Linked DNA regions of Homo sapiens: region 2 is linked to region 1. Evidence: promoter capture Hi-C in human tissues and cell types (Jung and others, 2019). All regions are on one chromosome and are shown on one strand. The core of a region is centred on a gene start or on the middle of the fragment in contact, and the rest is flanking DNA. Distances in the headings are between cores, read along the strand shown. Region 1 holds the start of ME3 (malic enzyme 3). Region 2 overlaps ME3 (malic enzyme 3).

Region 1 (2,925 bases), core at 10-2,509:
CTCTTTAGATCTCACGACATTCCTAAGACAATTATATCTCTTTTACAGATAAGGAAACCTAGGCTCATGTAGGTTAAATGAACTGCCCAAGACCAATAAAATTAGTAAGCATCAAGGGGAGAGCTGACCGCAGGTCAGACTGACCGCGAGGATCTAAACCTGGTCTGTGTTGTTACTGCAGAAGAAATTAGGCTCCCTGCATTACTGGTCGCCTCTCTCCACGCATAAAAGGGAGAGGAGGGACAAGAAAGCCAAACCAAGTCACAACAAGCCCCTGCAAGGCAAAAACAGAAAAACCGCTGGAAGGGCGCCCGGGAGGATCCTTTCTGGGTCCAGGGGGCGGGGCGCAATTTTCCGGCAGCCACGGGATCGCAACGCGGGCCGTCCTGCCCTCTGGCCCATTACCTTGTTGAGATGAGGGTTCCTGGTGACATCGTATCCGCGCTTCTTCAGGGGCACAGGGCGCGCCGGGCCAGGCTTGGAGTGGCAGCCTTGGGCGGGCGCGGTGGGTGTCCAGCGCGGGAGGGCGCCGCAGGCCCGGCCCGGCCAGGGAGCCAGCCGCGTGCCTGTCCCCAGCGCGGCACCCATGGTCCTTGGCAGACCTGGCACGGGAGAGAAAGCAAGGTCAGGGCCTCCTTCCAGCCAGCCAGGACCCACGCGCGCTGCGGGGCACCGGGCCTGATCCGGGGACGCGCCCTCTGGGAGAGGGCAGGTGCTCCCAAAGGGTTAAATGTTCCAGCCCCCGCCACTCCTCGGCTGCCACCTGCTCGGCTCCGCGCGGGGCGCCAGGCCTAGCCAAGAGCCAGGCAAAGCGAAACCAAGCCCTGGAAGCAGATCCGGTGCGGGTGACAGCCGGCGCCACCCCTGCCCCCATCCCTGTGAAAAAGAGGCGACTGCGCGGCGAGGGGTCCCCGTACCCCTAATCCCGCGTGGTGGCTTGCCTCGGTCCTCTCCTTCCCTGGCCCACCTGCGCTGCTCGGGGAGCTGAGGTCTACGCGGTCCCGCTGCGGAGCAGGCGGGGTGAGGAGCTGCGGTCTGTGAGTCCTCTCCCGCCAATGGGTGGACCGCGCTGGCGGCCGCGAGCTCGCGGAGCTGGTGAGTTCCTCAAAGAGCGGTCCCACAACCTTTGTTCTCAGTGCCTGGCTTCCCCTGAGGACGCGCGTGGGGCGCCTCAGCACTGCGTGCACGTGGTTTTCCCCAGTGACAAGAAGCAGCTCAGAATGCCCGCCTGAGACTCTCCATCTTGGCAAGACTAAATGCACAGAGGGGGATTTGCGTTTGGGGGTCAGCATATCCTCGCACTCTCCCAACATTCGGGGAAGGGCGTGCCTTCAGGATTTGGAGTAGAAATCCTCAGGCATTCGGTGCTCAGTGTTGCCTTGTGCTGTCCAATATAATAGCCATTCGCCACGTGTGGCTATATAAACGTAAATAAATTAGTCTATATAGAATAAAATTTAACATCCAGTTCTGCAGTCACGCTAGCCACATTTCCAGTTCAAGAGCCACTTGTATGCAGATACAGAACATTTCTGTTTTTGCGGATACTTCTATTAAGCATCATTGACATAGGAGCCACAGTTACTAAGAGGACTTCTGAGGACCCCATGGAGTTTGCCATGGGTTATTGGGGCCAGACAGGGATCTTGGGGTCCATCTAGCCCCAAACTTAATTTTATACTTTCTCCACACAGTAGTCAGGAGATTCCTTTTAAAGCAAACACTTTGTTGTGTGTGGAATAAAATCCAAACTTTCAGGGCCTACAAGATTTCCCATAAACTGGCTCTTGCCAGCCTCTTCAGACTTATCCTACTCTACTCTTTCCTTCTCACTGATCTCTGGCCATACTTGATCCTTCCTGTGTCTTCACCCCACTTGGTTCCCTCCCACTGCAGGGCCTTTGCACTTGCTATTGCCTCTCCTTGGAAGGCTCATACTCCAGCCTTGCAAACCACTACTTCATTCCCACCTCTCAGTTCTCCACTAAGTTGTCAACTCGAAGGCCTTTCCTCTATCCCATTCAATGTCAGCCTGCACTAGGAACTATAGAGTGAAGGGGTTTTTCTCTTTAGAGAACTTAACACAGTCAGTAGCGCGCTTGTTTTTCTGATTGTTTACTGACTATCTCCTGTCTAGAATGTAAGCTTCATGAAGAGAGGCTCTTTGCCTGTGAACCTGTGTGTCCTCACTGCCTAGCTCACTGCCTGGTATGTAGTTGCACAATAAATAGTTGTTAGGTGAAGGGAAGTGGCAGCCACTTTCATAAGGATCGTGAACCCTTAGACTTACTGACAGACAGTTGGCACGGTCCTCTGCTGACACCCCTTCAAAGCTCCCGGTGCCAGCATTAGCCCCGTTGTAAGTACCAAGCAGACATCATGGCCCATAATGTGCTAAGGGGTGCTCCTGCCTGAGTTCAGGATTCCCTCATCCCTTCAGGAATAATCGTCTCCTCCTGCAGTCTCTCTCCTCCCTGTGTAATATCTAATTTTCAACTTGAATGATCTACGTAAAATAGTTATTTCCAAAACAGAATTACAATTACCTGGTAGGAAATAAGGATGGGGCAAAAATACAGCTTTCCAGGCCCCATCCATGAAGATTCTCATCCAGTAGGGTTTACATCCCTGAAGTCAGGTTTACTCTTGGACTGCATATTTACATAAGCTTATAAATGATCTTTTTTTCTGCCTTAAACCAGTTTGTGTCAGATGTGTGATTGTGTGCAACCAATAGTATTAACTAAATCCTTTCAACACTATTTTTATATTGGCACTTCTTCCCACCAGTCAACATCTTTGGGGGGCAGAGATCATGTGTGTTTCCATCTTTGGTATCTAGTGCATGCAAATATTTGGAAATTGATTGTTGAACCAGTTTGCCCTTGCTGAATACAATGACCTTTCCCTCCCCTGGAGGATATC
Region 2 (2,700 bases), core at 27-2,526, 80 kb before region 1:
CACAATATGATTGTATTTAAAGATAAGTCATTTAAAAAGGCAGTGGCATTAAAATGGGGTTGTTAGGGTGGACCCAAATCCAATATGATGGGTGTCATAGCAAGAGGAGATTAGAACACAGACAACACAGACAGAGGGACAAGGATCATGTGAGGTCACAGCAGGAAGGTGGCCATCTGTAAGCGAAGGAGAGAGGTTTCAGGAGAAACCAAACCTGTCAGTATCTTGATCTTGGAGATTGTATTACTCTGTTCTCATGCTGCTAATAAAGATATACCCAAGACTGGGCAATTTACAAAATAAAGAGGTTTAATGGACTTACAGTTCCACATGGCTGGGGAGGCCTCACAAGGCAAAAGGCAAGGAGGAGCAAGTCGCATTTTATGTGGATGGCAACAGGCAAACAGAGTTTCTGTGGGGAAACTCCCCTTTTTTAAAATCATCAGATCTCGTGAGACTTATTTGCTTTCATGAGAACAGCATGGGAAAGACCTGCTCCTGTGACTCAATTACCTCCCACCGAGTCTCTCCCACAACACGTGGGAATTCAAGATGAGATTTGGGTGGGGACACAGCCAAACCATATCAGACATCTAGAGTCCAGAACTGTGAGAAAATAAATTTCTATTGTTTAAGCCACCTAGTCTGCAGTGTTTTGTTATGGGAGCCTGAGCAAACTAATACACTTCCTATGAAGAAAATCTCACGTGAAGTCCAAGCCTGTCTGGTCTAAGAGAAAAAAGTCACCACCTGAGAACTGGGACCACATTCTTTGTTCTAATTGTTCCAGCTAGTCCAGCTTCTCCACTAACCTACTTAATCATTACAGACATGGGCACTGTGACAATGATGGCCAGGTGTGTTGGGAATTCAATCACTTGAACAAGAATGTCCCTGGGTTATAACATCCAGGCTGCTGCTTTTTTTTCTAAAGCACCAGACAATTGCTTCACAAAGTTCCCAATAACTCAGCTCTCACCACTTGCTCAAAGCCAGTTTCTTAGGCCTTGAGGGGGGGAAATAGGCTATTTAAACTCAAATGACTATTGAGCTTTGTTGACAAAATACCACTTGGAAGAATAATGTAAATGGAATCCATCTTCAAGGAAGCAAATGTCAAGGAGCACTTCACAAAACCCATGTTCCTCTAGCCACAGTGACTTCATTACTACATCTGAGGGGAGAGAAGTGTGAGTTTAATTAGGTAAACATAGAGACAGTGTTTGGGAATCTCATTGTAACCAGTGAGAAGGCAAGGTTTTCATAGACAATTGCTGGATGCAACTAGGTCAGTCTCCAGATCTGAAATTAAACCCTTTATCTAAGGGTTACTACTTAAGCCAGCAACAAAGGAGCATTTTACCCAATTCCCACTCAGATTTAGAGATGTCAAGTTTTCCTTGTTTCTGACTAGCAACAACAGAAGAAATTAAAACAGCTCAGTCTGGAATATCCCAGGAACCCCCAAACTTAGCAAGATTTGGGGAATATACCACCTAGTCACTCCTTCAGAAAGGGGCACAGTGATGGGGGAGAGCACAGAACGCAGGCATCAAACACACCTGCATTTGAGTCCTGGCTCCATGGGTTACTAAGTGTGTGACTGTGAGCCAGTTATTTAACCTTCCATAGGCCTCAGCTCCCTTATCTATTAACCTGGTGAAATGCAGACCCCTCTGCATGGGGTTACAAGGTTTCAGCATGACTGGGTATGAAAAGAGAACAAAGAAGCTTCCTGGAGATGACTGTGGCCTTGGCTCACTGCCAGGAAAATGACTCATTTCTGTATGCCAGGGTTATAGTTCACTGTTACCCTGACAAATGAATGTGGAAGACCCATGATTTCCTCCACCCTCCTTCACTCACATAGTAAAAGTTAGCTACTGCCTGCAACATACCAGGCACCGTACAACACGAAACTGTAGGCTCCCCCTCCAGGAAGTGACAATGTCATTCCTAACCTGTTGGAATTTTAACACCTGTCATAAAAGGATCTCATGATGCTTTGAATACTTTCTCGAAAGGTGTCACATGCTGCAAGAATAGTAAGGACAGCAACAGCTATCATTTCCTACTTGGGTTGCATGTTTAATATTTCGTAAAACAATACTTTCACATATATCATATGAGCCCCACAAAGGCTCCAGAACTTCAGCATACAACCAGTAAGTTGCAGAACTGGATCACAAGCCCGACCTCCATCTCCCTAAGTTCAATAGGAATTTTCTGATACATTTTCTCCCAAGTTTGAAAGTAATATTACGCACAGAAAAGTTGGAAAAAAATAACCACACCTTATTTTCATCACCCAGAGATAGCCACTGTATCATTTTGTTCTATTTTCTTCCTATCTTTTTTCTATGCTTAAAAAAATTTTATTTAAACAAACTTGAGATCATACTATGTATAAAATTTTTTAGTCTTTTTTCCCCACTAAAAATGTTATGATTAGCATTTTCCCACATACTAAAACTTCAGCCTAAAATGTTATTAAAAAACAGAAAAACACAGCAAGCTTTATCTAGTAATTCCTGTTTTATATAATTGTTTCCAAACTTCCACAATTATGAATTATGCTGTAATGAGCACAAAACTTTTTGTTTCTGATTTTTCTTCAGATTGAACTATAAGTGTACTTAAGAGACTGATGACTCATTCTTTCATTCAACAAATATTTAATAAGCACCGACTAGGTACTGG

The links. The method cuts DNA at HindIII sites, captures the fragments that hold promoters and counts their contacts. A contact is called where the count stands out against the background at its distance.
Region 2: a contact is called between a fragment that was not itself captured here and the fragment with the promoter of ME3 in region 1, in 2 of the 25 tissues and cell types used here (adrenal gland and neural progenitor cells).

Annotation. Positions count from the first base shown.
Region 1 is chr11:86,671,357-86,674,281 of GRCh38, forward strand. It overlaps ME3 (malic enzyme 3), which reads right to left and starts at 1,260. Exons shown (of 15, transcript NM_001161586.3): 1 at 968-1,260; 2 at 406-602. The coding sequence starts at 588. The HindIII fragment of the contact is 8,709 bases long and covers 1-2,406 here.
Region 2 is chr11:86,591,341-86,594,040 of GRCh38, forward strand. The region is part of intron 2 of ME3 (malic enzyme 3); the gene reads right to left. Among named protein-coding and RNA genes, the nearest start is that of ME3, 80 kb to the right of the region's middle. The HindIII fragment of the contact is 4,062 bases long and covers 1-2,700 here.